Regions from separate parts of the Homo sapiens genome. Here regions 2, 3, 4 and 5 are each linked to region 1. The links are contacts of gene promoters, found by promoter capture Hi-C in blood cells and fetal thymus (Javierre and others, 2016). All regions are on one chromosome and are shown on one strand. Each heading gives the region's core, a stretch centred on a gene start or on the middle of the fragment in contact. The rest is flanking DNA. Distances are from core to core; before and after follow the strand shown. Region 1 holds the start of AVPR1B (arginine vasopressin receptor 1B). Region 2 overlaps PM20D1-AS1 (PM20D1 antisense RNA 1). Region 3 overlaps SLC26A9 (solute carrier family 26 member 9). Region 4 holds the start of SLC26A9-AS1 (SLC26A9 and RAB7B antisense RNA 1). Region 5 overlaps SLC26A9-AS1 (SLC26A9 and RAB7B antisense RNA 1).

The links. The method cuts DNA at HindIII sites, captures the fragments that hold promoters and counts their contacts. A CHiCAGO score of 5 or more calls a contact.
Region 2: a fragment that was not itself captured here is called in contact with the fragment with the promoter of AVPR1B in region 1 in 5 of 17 cell types (M0 macrophages, M2 macrophages, M1 macrophages and 2 more); the score reaches 6.7 in M0 macrophages.
Region 3: a contact is called between a fragment that was not itself captured here and the fragment with the promoter of AVPR1B in region 1, in 8 of 17 cell types (M0 macrophages, endothelial precursors, M1 macrophages and 5 more). The highest score is 18.1, in M0 macrophages.
Region 4: the fragment with the promoter of SLC26A9-AS1 here is called in contact with the fragment with the promoter of AVPR1B in region 1 in 10 of 17 cell types (M0 macrophages, erythroblasts, M2 macrophages and 7 more); the score reaches 11.8 in M0 macrophages.
Region 5: a fragment that was not itself captured here is called in contact with the fragment with the promoter of AVPR1B in region 1 in 8 of 17 cell types (erythroblasts, M0 macrophages, M2 macrophages and 5 more); the score reaches 8.4 in erythroblasts.

Annotation. Positions count from the first base shown.
Region 1 is chr1:206,116,018-206,118,685 of GRCh38, forward strand. AVPR1B (arginine vasopressin receptor 1B) reads right to left here and starts at 1,371. Exons shown (of 2, transcript NM_000707.5): 1 at 1-1,371. The coding sequence starts at 873. AVPR1B-DT (AVPR1B divergent transcript) reads left to right here and starts at 1,766. Exons shown (of 3, transcript NR_186693.1): 1 at 1,766-1,808; 2 at 2,053-2,323. RefSeq lists a silencer at 2,191-2,485. The HindIII fragment of the contact is 5,056 bases long and covers 1-2,668 here.
Region 2 is chr1:205,876,965-205,879,632 of GRCh38, forward strand. The region is part of intron 1 of PM20D1-AS1 (PM20D1 antisense RNA 1); the gene reads left to right. Among named protein-coding and RNA genes, the nearest start is that of PM20D1-AS1, 16 kb to the left of the region's middle. The HindIII fragment of the contact is 1,334 bases long and covers 628-1,961 here.
Region 3 is chr1:205,913,151-205,915,818 of GRCh38, forward strand. SLC26A9 (solute carrier family 26 member 9) reads right to left here. Exons shown (of 21, transcript NM_052934.4): 21 at 1-2,254. The coding sequence ends at 2,207. Among named protein-coding and RNA genes, the nearest start is that of SLC26A9-AS1, 20 kb to the right of the region's middle. The HindIII fragment of the contact is 1,001 bases long and covers 805-1,805 here.
Region 4 is chr1:205,933,588-205,936,255 of GRCh38, forward strand. SLC26A9-AS1 (SLC26A9 and RAB7B antisense RNA 1) reads left to right here and starts at 1,326. Exons shown (of 4, transcript NR_110984.1): 1 at 1,326-1,366; 2 at 2,021-2,180. It overlaps SLC26A9 (solute carrier family 26 member 9), which reads right to left. Exons shown (of 21, transcript NM_052934.4): 2 at 2,109-2,251. The coding sequence starts at 2,233. The HindIII fragment of the contact is 1,326 bases long and covers 924-2,249 here.
Region 5 is chr1:205,951,888-205,954,555 of GRCh38, forward strand. The region is part of intron 2 of SLC26A9-AS1 (SLC26A9 and RAB7B antisense RNA 1); the gene reads left to right. Among named protein-coding and RNA genes, the nearest start is that of SLC26A9, 9.8 kb to the left of the region's middle. The HindIII fragment of the contact is 735 bases long and covers 953-1,687 here.

The sequences.
Region 1 (2,668 bases), core at 121-2,620:
GATGTAGGCCAGCACGATGACAAAGGTCATCTTCACTGTTCGGATCTTGGCCCGTGAGATGGTGTTGATGCTGCTGACCCGAGATGGCAGCCCCCGAGTGGTGGCAGCTAAGGTGGAAGGTGAGGGCCTGTCCCAAGTCCTCCAGCCCCCTCCTCCCACCCGCCAGGCCTGTGTCTTGACTTTTAGGTTTTTACAGATCTCATGGCAGATGAGGCTGTAGCAGGCCGTGAGCATGGTCACCGGCAGAACGAAGATAGCCAGGGTGGTCCAGGTGAGGTAGGCCCGTGGCCCCCAAGGGAAGCCGAAGTCTGCCCAGCAGTCCAGCACCCCTGAGCCCTGGATCACCTCCCGCAGGGAAAAAATGAAGACTTGAGGGAGGCTGAAGATGGCGGCCAGCAGCCAGGGAGCAGCGATGAGCAGGTAGGTGGACTGGCCTGGCTGCTGGAGGCTGCGCAGGGGGTGACAGACAGCCAGGTAGCGGTCCAGCGTCATGGCCAGCAGCATGTAGGTGGAGGCAAACATGCTGAGCACCTGCAGGTACTTGACGGCCCTGCACAGGAGGTCGGGGCCCTGGAAGCGGTAGGTGATGTCCCACAGCAGCTGTGGCAGCACCTGGAAGAGCGCCACGGCCAGGTCTGTCAGGGCTAAGTGCAGCACGAACAGGTGCATGCGGGAGCGCTTGCGGCCCAGCTGGCCCAGGGTCAGCAGCACAGCCAGGTTGCCCCCGGTCGCCAGCACCAGGACAGTGGCCAGGACTCCGATCTCCACCTTGGCCAGCTCCTCATCCCGGCCCAGCCAGGGTGTTGTGGCATTGGGGGCAGAGAGGGTGCCCCGAGGGGTGGGGTTGGCATCCCACAGAGGCCCAGAATCCATGAGCAAGGTTTGCTGGGAGGGAAGGATGAAGGGAGGGTGTGGATGCAAGTGGAGAGGTTTGATGGATAAAATGGAGTGGCAGGGGAGGTGGAGAGAAAGGAGAAGCGTTGAGAATGACAGGGAGAAGGCTTGCAAATAGGCGGAAATCGTTCAGAGGACTGGGATAGAGAGGAGGAGGGAGGATGAGATTCGGAAGGAGAAAATGTGACTGGGATCGACCCAGGAGAGGGAGAAGGAGGGGTCAGGAAGATGGGGAATCAGGACGGGAAGAATGGGGGACGCTGTGCAGAGTGAGGCTTCTGGGAGGGAAAGAAGGCTGGGGAGGGGCTACCACCCTCCAATCCGCCTCAAATTCTCTTTCTCCAAACTTTTCTGGAAGCCAAGAGCGGAAGCCCTTCAGCCTGCTTGGAGGCGCGGTCCGGGGCAGTCGGTGTCGCGCTCAGGGCAGGAAGCCCCAGCCAAGCCCGCTCGCTCTGCCTGGTGAGCAGCGGCTGGAGCGCAGCGGCGCGGCTCGGGCGGGTTTTATGGGCTCCCAGGCCGAGCCCGGCGGCCTGCGGCTCGCCAGTTGGCTCCTGCAGAGGAGGGAGGAGTGAGGTTCGCAGGCACCCACCCGGCGGGATGACCGAGAGGCCGGCTGCTGGAGGGAGGGGGGGCAGAGGGGGTAGCGGACGAGGGACAGGGAGCGAGACAAGCAGGCGACGCAGGCCAGCGCCCAGCAGCCGGCAGGACACACCGACCCGCAGGCAGGCAGATAAGCTCCTCTGCGCACTCACCCTGGAACTCTCGGGCCGTCTCTCCACAGGTGCATCCCCGGGGGATGGTGAGAGGCAGTCACTCCTCCCACCTACGCGGGGGCACTTCGGCTGGCGGCTGTTGGCGCGCCCTCTGCCAGCCGGCTAGCCGGTGCAGGATCCACAATCTTCAAGGGTGGCCAGGTGAGCGAGGCGGCATCCCTGATTGCCAGTCACCTGGGAGTGACGTCTGACCGCAGACCCTGTTGAGGGACTGCGAGGCATAGGGAAAGGAAGAAAAAGTGAGGGTATATGTGGGGGTGGGGAGACGAAGGAGCTAGACCTGAGAGCCCTGGTGCTTGATCGGTGGGAACAGCCGGAGAAATTCCCGGTATTTGCGTCCCCAAGGGACATCTTAACTTCTGGCCTATGTGCTTTTCGTGCTTAGGTGCTTCCAAGATCCTAAACGCAGTTAACCACTCGGCGAGGTAGAAAACAGGCCCAGAGAAGTTCAAGAACTTGCTGTAGAAGATTACTGAACGAGTAAGCAGCAGAGGCCGGTCTAGAACCAGCCCCGTGTGCCCTTCTGACAGCGCAGCAGCAGCACTTAACACCTAACCGGCTTGGCTAAATTCTATGTGAGAGGCACTGGTGCTGACGGTAAAAATAAAAACAAAACACCATCCAGTCCAGAGGCAGCTTACAGCTCAATAGAGAAGGTATTGTGTGGTGTTGGCTGTGAAATTCACTTAATCTTCAGTATGCAAGATGGACTATTGGGACTCTCCCTAGAGCAGATTAGAAGTTAGGAGTGACAGACTGGGCGCGATGGCTCACGTCTGTAATCCCAGCACTTTGGGAGGCCGAGGCGGGCAGATCACGAGGTCAGGAGATCGAGACCATCCTGGCTAACACGGTGAAACCCCATCTCTACTAAAAATACAAAAAATTAGCCGGGCGTGGTGGCGGGCGCCTGTGGTCCCAGCTACTGGGGAGGCTGAGGCAGGAGAATGGCGTGAACCCGGGAGGCAGGGCTTGCAGTGAGCCGAGAACACACCACTGCA
Region 2 (2,668 bases), core at 45-2,544, 240 kb before region 1:
TTTAAATTTTTGTGGGGACAGGGTCTCAGTATATTTCTCAGACTGGTCTCAAACTCCTGACCTCAAGTAATCCTCCTGCCTTGGCATCCCAAAATGCTGGGATTACAGATGTGAGCCACCATGCCCAGTCTGTATGTCTTCTTTTGAGAAATATGTATTCATGTCATTTGCCCACTTTTAAATGAGATTATTTGTTTTTTTATTATTGTTGAGTTGTTTGATATTCCTGTATATTCTGGCTATTAGTCCCTTGTCAGATGAATAGTTTGCAAATATTTTCTCCCATTCAGTAAGTTGTCTCTTCACTCTGTTGATTGTTTCCTTTGATGTGTAGAAGCTTTTTAGTTCAATATAGTCCCATTTGTCTATTTTTGTTATAGTTTCTGTGCTTTTGAGGTCTTAGCCATAAAATCTTTGCCTAGACTCATGTCTTAAAATATTTTCTCTATGTTTTTTCCTAGCAGTTTTATAGTTTCGGGTCTTATGTTTACAGTTTTAATCCATCTTCAGTGATTTTTGTGTATGGGGAGAGAAAAGGGTCCAGTTTCATTCTTCTGGATACAGATATCCAATTTTCCCAACATCATTTATTGAAGAGGGTATCTTTCCCCCAGTGTATGTTCTTGAAGCTTTTATTGAAAATCAGTTAGCTGTGAATGTGTGGATTTATTTCTGGACTGTCTATTCTGTTCCATTGGTCTATGTGTCTGTTTTTATACCAGTGCCTCAACCTCCCAAGTAGCTGGGATTACAAATGCCTGCCATTATGCCCGGCACATTTTTTTTTTTTTTTGTATTTTTAGTAAAGATGGGGTTTTGCCATGTTGGCCAGGCTTGTCTTGAACTCTTCACCTCAAGTGATCTGCCCACCTCAGCCTCCCAAAGTGCTGGGATTACAGGCGTGAGCCACCACACCCAGCCCTTTTTACTCTTTTTGACTTAATTTTATCTGATATAAGTATAGCTACTTCTGCTTGCTTTTGGTTTCCATTTGCATGGAATATCTTTTTCCATTCCTTTGAGTGTAGATGTTTCTTTCTTGTAGGCACTATTTTGTTGGATTTTGTTTCTTTATCCATTCAGCCAGTCTATATTTTTTAAGTGGAAAATTTAATTCATTCACATTCAAGGCTATTATTGATATGGAGGTTTTATTACTGTCATATTGTTAATTATTTTCTGGTTGTTTTGTATATTCTTTGTTCTTTTCTTCCCTCTTGTTGATAGTAATTGTGGTTTGGTGGTTTACTGTAGTGGTACCACTTAAGTCCTATCTCTTCCTCATTTATGTATTTGGTTTACCAGTGAGTTTTATACTTTTGTGTGTTTTTATTATGGTAAATGTCCTTTCACTTCCAAGTTCAGGACTCCCTTGGACATTTCTTGTAGGGCTGGTCTTGTGGTGTGTTCCCTCAGAATTTACTTGTCTGGGAAAAACTGTTTCTCCTTCATTTATGAATTTTGCTGGATGTAGTGTCCTTGGGTGGCAGGTTTTTTCTCCCAGCACTTTCAATATGTTATCCCATTCTCTCCTGGCCTGCAAGGTTTTGATATGGGTTTCTTTATAGGTGACTAGTTGCTTTTCTCTTACTGTTTTTAGTATTCTATACTTTGCTTTGACTTTAGACAGTTTGATTACAATATGCCATGGAGAAGATCTTTTTCCATTATATTTGTTAGGGAATCTTTGGGCCTCCTCCATCTGGATATCTAGATCTCTTGCTAGATTTGGGAAGTTTTCAACTAATATTTTGTTAAATAAGTTTTCTAACCCTTTGTTTTCTCTTCACTCTCAGGGACAGTGGTAATTTGAATATTTGTTCACTTTATGTTGTACCAAAGGTTACAAAAGCTCTGCTTATTCTTTCTAATTTTTTCTTTATTTTAATCTGCCTGGATTAGTTCAAAAGACTTGTCTTCAAGTTCTGAAATTCTTTTTTCTGTTTGATCTAGACTATTGAAGCTTTCAAATGTATTTTGTATTTAATTCAATGAATTATTCAGTTCCAGAATAAAAAAAAAACTATCTCTTCAGTAAAGTTCTCATTCATATCCTGAATTGTTTTTTTATTTCTGTGTATTGTTTTTCAGAATTATCTCACATCTCTCTGAGCTCTCTTAAACTCTGTATTTTGAATTATTTATCTGGGATTTCATAATTTCTTTTATGGGATCTGCTGTTGGAGATTTATTGTGTTCCTTTGGAAGTATCAGATTCCTTTACTTTTTCTTTTTTTTATGTAAAAACAAACAGTCCAAGAAAACATTTAGATTCCTTTACTTTTTCATGTTTCCTGTGCCTTTACATTGACATCTGTGCACCTAGTGTAACAGTTGCTTATTCCAATTTTTTGTATTTGCTTTCATAGAGGAGTATTTATTCAGGATGTATATGTGTTTTCGGCGGGTAGGGCACTTTGGCTTTGATTTTGGGTGAGTGCACTGGTATAATCTTTCTATGGTTTTTTTCAGTTGTAAATACAATCAGTGGTATCTGTGATTTCCTCAGTGACTTAGGGTGCAGTTATTAGTGGAGGCTGTGGTGAAGTTTTTGCTAGGGACTAGGATGCCAGGTGGGCTAGCCTTTGGGCCCCAGTTTTGGCAGCAGGGGGCTGAGCATGCTGTCATTGGTTCCCAAGGCAGCTTATGCTAGCATTAGTGTTAGTGG
Region 3 (2,668 bases), core at 55-2,554, 200 kb before region 1:
TCCTCCCTGGGAATTATATTATCACAGGTCAGTATCACTAAGAACATTCAAAAGCATTGAAATTCTGGATTATTTCACTACTTTGCCTCCATCTTTCCTGCTTCAACCAGGTCCAGAAGAGTGTTCTTTTCCAAATATTCCAGCAGAGATGTTTTCTTCAATGTCTTCCCTCTGCCTCATGTGTTTCCAATCTTACCTCCACAGCGGGCTCTGCAACCCTCAGACATGTGGCAGATCTCTCCCTGAGCCTCAACTCCAGGTCACTGGGTCAACAATCTCCTTCAGTTCTGAGGCTGGTCTGGGGGTTAATGATTACTTGGGGGTTAAGGATCACTTCATCAAGTCCTCAGGGGATCTAGATACTTGGTTCAAAGGGGACTCTGACTTGGAAATTCCTGAGGCTCTGTGACCTTCTCCCACCTCCTGGGCCTGAGCTGGACTTGGAAGGAGGTGGAGTAGGGGAGAGTGAGTTGTCATTGGCTAAGGCTCTTGTCCTCCTGGAATTTGGCACTTCGGGTGCTGGGCACGGTGAATCCCAGATAACATTGTCCTTCGCCTTCCAAGTTTTGAGTTCCATTGGCAGCCAGATGGCATAATGAATTCACAGAAAAGCAATGCTCCTGGGCCAAGAATGTGTTGGCTCTTGGCCAGCACCCCCTCCTTTAACTCTAAGAAGACTTGTTAGCTGACCAGCTCACTCAACACACAGACACACAACGCAGGTCTGGCTGAAGTTAGAAATGGGGATGTTTTCCTAGGCTGGGCCAGCCCAACCTGTTAGGGAAGGGGTTGTTAAGCTGAAGAAGCTTGAGAAAAGCAGTGATGAGAGGCCAGAAGATTTTCTGTGCATTTCCACTGAAATTTTACAAAACACTTACACATGGAACCTATTTATTTTCAAGTCAACAGTAGGGTTCCTCTCAATACCTCCTTGTACATATGGAAAACTTAACCCCTATTTTCATCTTCATAGGAGAAGATGGCCTGAGGTCCTAAGGGTGTTAAAGAGTCTTCCTGTGCAGGAAGACCCAATCTGGATCAGCCCCTTTCCACATCTGCATGCAGTTAGGGGATGTAGCGGATCCCTGGAGGACTTCCACCTTTGCCTACAGAAGGACCCCATTGTGTCTCTGGGCCACAGGCTGATAAGGAAGAGTTAACATGATTGGCTCTTTGCCAGGTAAAGAAGGATAAGGCAGATTTACCAAAGGGAGGCATTTCCCTGATGGGCCCTGGGGTCAAGGGGGACTGTCTGGGCCCAGGTCCCATCCGTTTTCCCTGTGTTGGTACTAGCACCCTCTTCCCCTCTGAGTCTCTGGGTGCAAAGAGGAATTCCCAAAAGTTTTGTGCAGAATAACTGGTATCTATTACTAGGATGCCAGATGATTCTGCCAGCTACCCATCCCCCTCTTTGGGGTTTCTAGCCAGCCTCCAGGGGAAGGGAGCAGCCTCTGAGGGCAGTGATGTTTCAGGAGGCTGAGGCAGAACCTTAGTGGGCTGTCCCCGGGGAGGTAGCTCTGGTGGTCTCGACGGTCCTGGCCACTGTCCAGGCTAGAGTCTGATGTGCTTGCTGACAGCAGTGGTGGTTTGGGCAGCCTTGGGGATGATGGAGGGGGGGCGCATAGTTACCAAGGCCTAGACTCCTGGGTGTGGAGAGCACATGGTCCCTGGGTGCAGAGCTGCCAGAGACAGAGTTGAGGCAGCTGGGGAAGGCAAGCCAGAGTCCTAACCAAGTTTATCCCTATGTCCGTGACAGCCTGACACCATCTGACACCGAGCCGTGTGGGCTCTGGGACACTTTTTGAAGCTTGTACAGCAGGCCAGCACAGTTGTACTTGTCCTTCTGTTTTTGGCTCACTCGTAAAAGCTGGAAGTCAAGGTGTCCTTCAGCTGCCAAGGACAGGGCAGAGGTGGGTGGGGTGGAGTGAGCAGGAGGCTTGTCCATTGCGGCCAGGGCCTGACGGGTGAAGAGTGGGCTCACCAGACTCTCACTCCTGTAAGGGTAGCACCCCCCTGCTGCTGAGAGGCTCTCTCTGGAGATGCGGGGAGGGAAGGAAGGGAGGAGAGAGGGGGAGAGGAGAGAGGAACCCAAGCTCTGGGGGATGCACTTTCCTCCGCCCGACACCCCCTGTGACCCCAGGCTCATCCTTTATGGAAGTCCCAAGTGCCAGGCACTCTGTAGGCAGCATGAGGACTGGCTGAGCCCTCACAGGGCGGTCAGGGTCTCTGCGTGAAACATGCTCCCGAACATCTCCTGCAGGAACCACAGGAAGGAAGTGGGAGGGGAAGAGAGAGGTTAGACCAGTTGGGGTCACAGTGGCTGCAACCAAGAGGTGACCCTAGGAACCCCTGGCCAGAACAAAGCACCTGTGTGTGTGTGTGTGTGTGTGTGTGTGTGCGAGAGTGTGTGTGAACAGGGGAGAGGCAGGGTCAGCCTAGGAGGTGAACCAGTCCAGCGTGGCAGGAGCAGGTGCTGAAATCTACATGTGAATCACCTCCTGTGTGCTGTGTGACCTTCCACGTGTCCCTCGCCCCCTAATAGCTTCACTTTCCTCATTGGGTAAAATGAGGGTTGGCAGTAGACAAGCTCTGAAGTCCTTTCTCACGTTGATAAGCTATTTTGGTCCTATCCAGGCTTTTTGGAATGTGCTGGAGATTCCAAGAGGGC
Region 4 (2,668 bases), core at 76-2,575, 180 kb before region 1:
TCGAGCCTTGCACAGGGGCACTTAGTAAATATTTGTTGAATAAATGAATGAGTGAATACACCCGAGTGGGGCCTGCCTGCTGCCATTTTTCTTAGAACTTCCTTGAAAAGGAAGGCTCTATTGTTCCTGCAGGGTGCACTCTGCTGACTCACTATCCTTTATGTGTGGTAACTCCAATACCGGAGTTCTTTCTCCTGTTAATTCACTGGGCAGCAGAGGAGGGAAGAATTCATTGGTCAACGCAGGGTGGGGAGAGTTGATCCCTTCCCTGTTTGTTGAACACCTCAAGGTCCTTTCATAGAAACTCAGGAGCGGTAGGAACAAGGGCTTACAAACTCAAGGGTGACAGCCGGTGGATTGATGACTGGAAGTGGGTGAGGGGCATTTGCTTTCCTTCTCCCAGTTGAGGGAACTCAAATACTTAGGGCCCATTTGGTGACTCACTGGCCTGCTCTGATGAGGCTTCCTTTCCTGCCCAGCACCAATTCCTGCTCTTTGCTCTTGCTCAACAATAGTTTCCCTGACACTCGGTCCCCTGGATGTCACCCAAGACTGAAACCAACAAAGACAATGCTTTGTACCTTGGAAAGTCTGGGCAGATTTTCTCTTCCAACTAACACTCCAAGAAAAAGCATCATCATCAATATCTTACCCCCTGTCCTTTCTGGGGCTCATGGGTGCCTCTGCCATCCCTGGGATGCTGGAAGGGGAGGTGGACGGGGGATAAATTGCTTAATGCAACTCTAAAGCCTTGCTTGAAGAGAGAACCAGCCCTGCAGGGGCTCCATCAGGTCTGTTTGTGGCAGAGAAAGCCGGACTTATGAATAGAGAGCTGGCTAGGGAAAGAAAAACAACTCATTTGAGGGCTAGTCCATGCCCAACCTTACTTGCAAGTCTGCTGTATGTTGGGCAAAGCAATCTGAAGCTTGAAAGAAGAACTGGAAACAGAGGCTGAGAGGGATTAGCTTTCTAGACATTCATTCATTCATTCATTCATGAAACAAATATTTATTGGTGCACCTTCTCTATGCCAGGCACTGTTCAAGGCTCTCATGCCAGTATCATAGGAATTGTTAGTTTGCTATATCCCTTTACAGCTTTCATTATCCTAATCTTTTAGGACAATAGCAGATCTTCTCATCCTCAGACTTTGTGCCCTAAAGTCTTGGGCACAAAGACTGGCAGAGACCACCTGTCTGAGGAGCACAGCTGTGAGGACAGACTGTAACTGGGCAGAAATGGAGCCTCCCAAGAGAAACAGGGCTGGGCTGGGGCTTTTAGTACAAACTCAAGTGGGTGATTCCCCCGGCCTGAACCAGTTCCACCTGCGTCTCCACTTCAGCCATTGCCAGTGACCTCAATCCAGGTAACTGAATCAGCCGTTTCCCCAAGGGAGTGAGGGAGAGTGAGTTGGCCTATAGCTGGGCCAGAGGAGGTCTGCCAGGAGTCTGGGAATGGGGAGGGTGACACCCGCAGCCCCAGCCTCCTGGGGTGTGGGTATGGATCACCTTGTGTAGCGCCTACTTAGGGACAAGGTTTCATACCCACCATCGCATTTCCAGGGAGATGAGAGTGGAAAGACCCTGGGCGCTGGTAGGACTACACCCTGGTAGGTCCCCTCAGGAAAGTTCAGAAATTTAGGGCCTCCTTTTGGCATTCTCTGGACCAAGTGGAGGAAGGAACATCCGGGAGGGAAAGGACAAAGAACCTGGGGTGATGGTAACTTCAGGTATTTTTTGTAAGGAGGGAACAGGGCATGGAGTAAGGGCTCTGATGCTCCCCACCCCTCCATAACGTAGATGCTCATCTACCATGCCTTAACAAACCCAGAGAGACCCGGGTGAATTGAGAATATGGGAGATGCCATGCAGGGGTTTGGGAATGCCATATAACCCTTCTGGATGGTTCTTGCTCCTGCTCCCCATCCTCCCTGGGGGTCTCAGTACAGATGAGGTTGTAGGATCTTAAATTCATCATTCAGAACCTCACTTCCCCAGGGCTTCCCTTAACCCCATCTTAGGGATACCAGTGCAGAAGCCGTGTCCTGGTGCAGAAAGGATTTTGGTAGGGAGCAGAGGAGGCAGAAGTCTGGGCTCTGGACCAGTTACCTGAAGGCATTGCGAAGTTTCTCTCCCACTGGGTATGTCCGGTCCTTCTTCTCAAACTCATCGTCGAAGAGGGTAAGGGAGTATGCGGCTCTGTCTACCACGTAGCGGGGCCTGGGCTGGCTCATATCTGGGGCATTTACAAGCTTTGGGAGAAGCAGAGGAGGGGAGGGTGAGGGAACATCCCTCCCTAGTGCCAGCCCAGGCCTTCTCTCTCTGGTCCTTGCAGTAGCAGAGTTTTATTCTGGCCTTCCCCGCCCCGATAAAGCAAGGTGCCTCCCTTCCCTCTGTCAAGTTTTTCCGTCAGACTCCCTGCTCGCAGTGGCCTTCCTTCCCAGGCACTGATGATGCATAGACTCACCCTGGCTGTTTTGCTTGGCGCTCAGCACGTGGCTGGCACTCCACACCTGTGGCGTCACCATCACCCCCACTGAGCACCAGGCAAAGGGGAATCACGAGGGCAGGAGGCCCCACTTGATTCAGCAGGTGGACCCTCCCCTCCCCTGACCCCTGGTGTCCCCACAAGCCATACTCCCTTCCCAGACCTCAGTTTCCCTGGCAGA
Region 5 (2,668 bases), core at 70-2,569, 160 kb before region 1:
ATGCCCTCTCCTCTTCCTGCCAGCTGGAGCCTAGATGTGGTGGGGACCCAGATTTCACTATGCATGATAACAATGGCCTGGCAAGTGGGAAAGCAACAGGGGGAAGGAACCTGGGCCTGTGAATGACCTCAGGAAGCTGAGAATGCCAGCAGCCAGGACTGCTCACTTTGAGACTCACTAGTGTCCCAAGAAGAGAAAAACTCCTATATTCTGTAATCTACTGTATTGAGGTTCTCTTTATAATGGGACATTAGTCTTTAACACACACATGGGTCCTGAGTCTCATTAAGTCCCTGGTGAGAACAGCTCTTTCTGCTTCTGCTGTAGTCCTGCACCGTCCCCCCAACCCCCTCTCTAAGGGCTGGATGGAACCCAAGGGCCTAGCTGGGGAAAGAGGTCATAGAAGCCCATTTCCTGAGTTCTTCTCTGCACCAAGGGATTTGATCACAGGGACTCTTCCTTTCCTGTAAATAGAGGTCTGGAGGACCTTTGATTCACTAGCTCATCAGACCTACCCAGACTCTGGATTCTAGTATAGGGTCTTCCAGGTCACCTAGCCCTGTGCATCTTTAACAATGGAAGCTTGGTAATTAATGCCCCAGCATAAGTTAAGCCTCATTGGATGAGGGCATAGTCTTCCTGCTTGGCTCACCTCTGTCTCCTGCTTAGAGTGAGAAGAGAAAGCAAGCATTGGAGGTCTTTTGGATCAGGAAAGAACCCTGTGGGTTTAGTAACTTCCAGGCCCCTCTTATTGTCTCTTATAGTAAGCAGGTGATAGATGAAGTTGTGCTACTAATCGAGGTTAAGAAAAAATAGTGCTTTAATAGTTCCTTGCATTTGTAGGGCACTTAGAGTTTATAGAGTGCTTTAGTATGCATTATCTGAAGCTATTTATCCCCATTTTGCATATGTGGAGACTGAGGATCCGTTACCCCCACCTAGGATATGCCCAAGCTTGGGTTAGCTCTCAGGGTTCCTGACTTCTAGCCTTGTGCTCTTATTTCTATACACTGCCAGGCTGAAAAATGATGGTTTGTGACTTACACTCAGGAAGTTGTGAACATTGAGGATGGCTTCGAGAAGAGGGAATTGTGTTGACTTTGGGGGAGACATTTCACCAACTGAGGTCTCAGTTTCTTCTTCTGTAAATGTGAAAGACATGCCGGCCTCTCCCAGACCAAGTAGAGAGTTTGTTGTTGTCACATACCTGGTTCCTATTCCAATTCCTGCCCTTACTCTAAGACTGTAAGGTAAATTGTTCTGTGGGCTTAGATTTGTCTGAGGAAGTTGGGGTTTGGGGAGGAAGAGGTGTCCTGGGGCTGCTGCTTCCAGATGGATTAACCCAAGGTGAACCACACTAGGCTGTCCTCTGGGTGGAGAAGTGTCATCTGAGACAAGTCCTTAGCCCAGGGAGACTGGGGTGGGGGTGGGGTGGGGACTTGCTCTTTCACCTCAAGTAGCCCAGCCACACCAGGTGCCTGGGTGGAGTGTAGGATAAAGGGCCAGTAGGGAAGAAAGGTTGGTTTGACCCTAGTGCACCTGATTTTGCTGCCCCACCAATTACACAAACACAGCCCTGCACACCTGACATGAGCACACCCAGATCAAGAACCACAGACCCCAAGCCCCAGGCCCCTCAGCTTCTATAGAAAAGCAGCATGCAGGATTCAGGTTAGACACAAAGGAAAGCTTCCCAGGGTATGGGTATTAGATCAGAGACTGGATGGTGTGGAATATTCTGAAGGGTGTATGATAGTTTCTATAAACATAAAAAAAATGCTTATCCTCTGGTGAAGGGGGTGGGGGTGGGGCTGGTAGAGACAGTTCAAGTGGACTTGCCTAGAAGTAGCTGGATGAATAATGTGTAAAACCTTACTGGTGAAAGCCTTCAAGCCCAGGCAGAAAGAAAAGCAATGAAAGAATGAAGCAAGAGGCACATAGGAAATATACCCCTTGCTTATGTCTATGCCTGGGAGTGGGAGAGAAAGAGCATTCTTGGCTTTGAATACAGAGAAGGGGGGCTACTTGCCTGCTGGGCAAGTGGTTACCTGGGAAGCAGGACCCTTTGGCTCTCAGAACAGTGAAGTGGTGGGGGGTCTGTGAGATGCAGATTTCCATGTGTCTGGCGGTCCAGTGACATCTACAGCAGTTATTGGGACTGCCCAAGCAAATGAACACAGGGGATAGTGTGAGAAGGAAGCCAGGGAGGAGAGCTACAGAACAGCTGCTGGCCTCTGCTCCACCAAAGCAAACAAACCAAGGCCTTGGGAGAGGAGCTGAGAGGGTCCTACGGAGGTAGGATGATTCTCTGCCCCTAATTCTTCCTATCTCCACATTTTATCATGAAAAATTTTTCTCCAACATATAGAAAAGTTGAAAGACTTCTATGATGAACATCGTATACCCACCACTTAGAGTCTTCCCTTAACATTTTGTTCTGTGTTGCAGAACACATATCTACCCAACTACCCATTCCTCTATCCATCCATCGATCCCTTGTATTTTTGGAAGCATTTCAAAGCACGGTGCAGACATCAGTAGCCATTTAGGCCAATACTTCAGCATCATATCATTAACAAAGTTCAATATTTGTCACAGTTATTTTTTTCTATGGAGATAAGTTTTACATACAAGGAAATGCACAATTCTCCAATGTGCCATACATGAG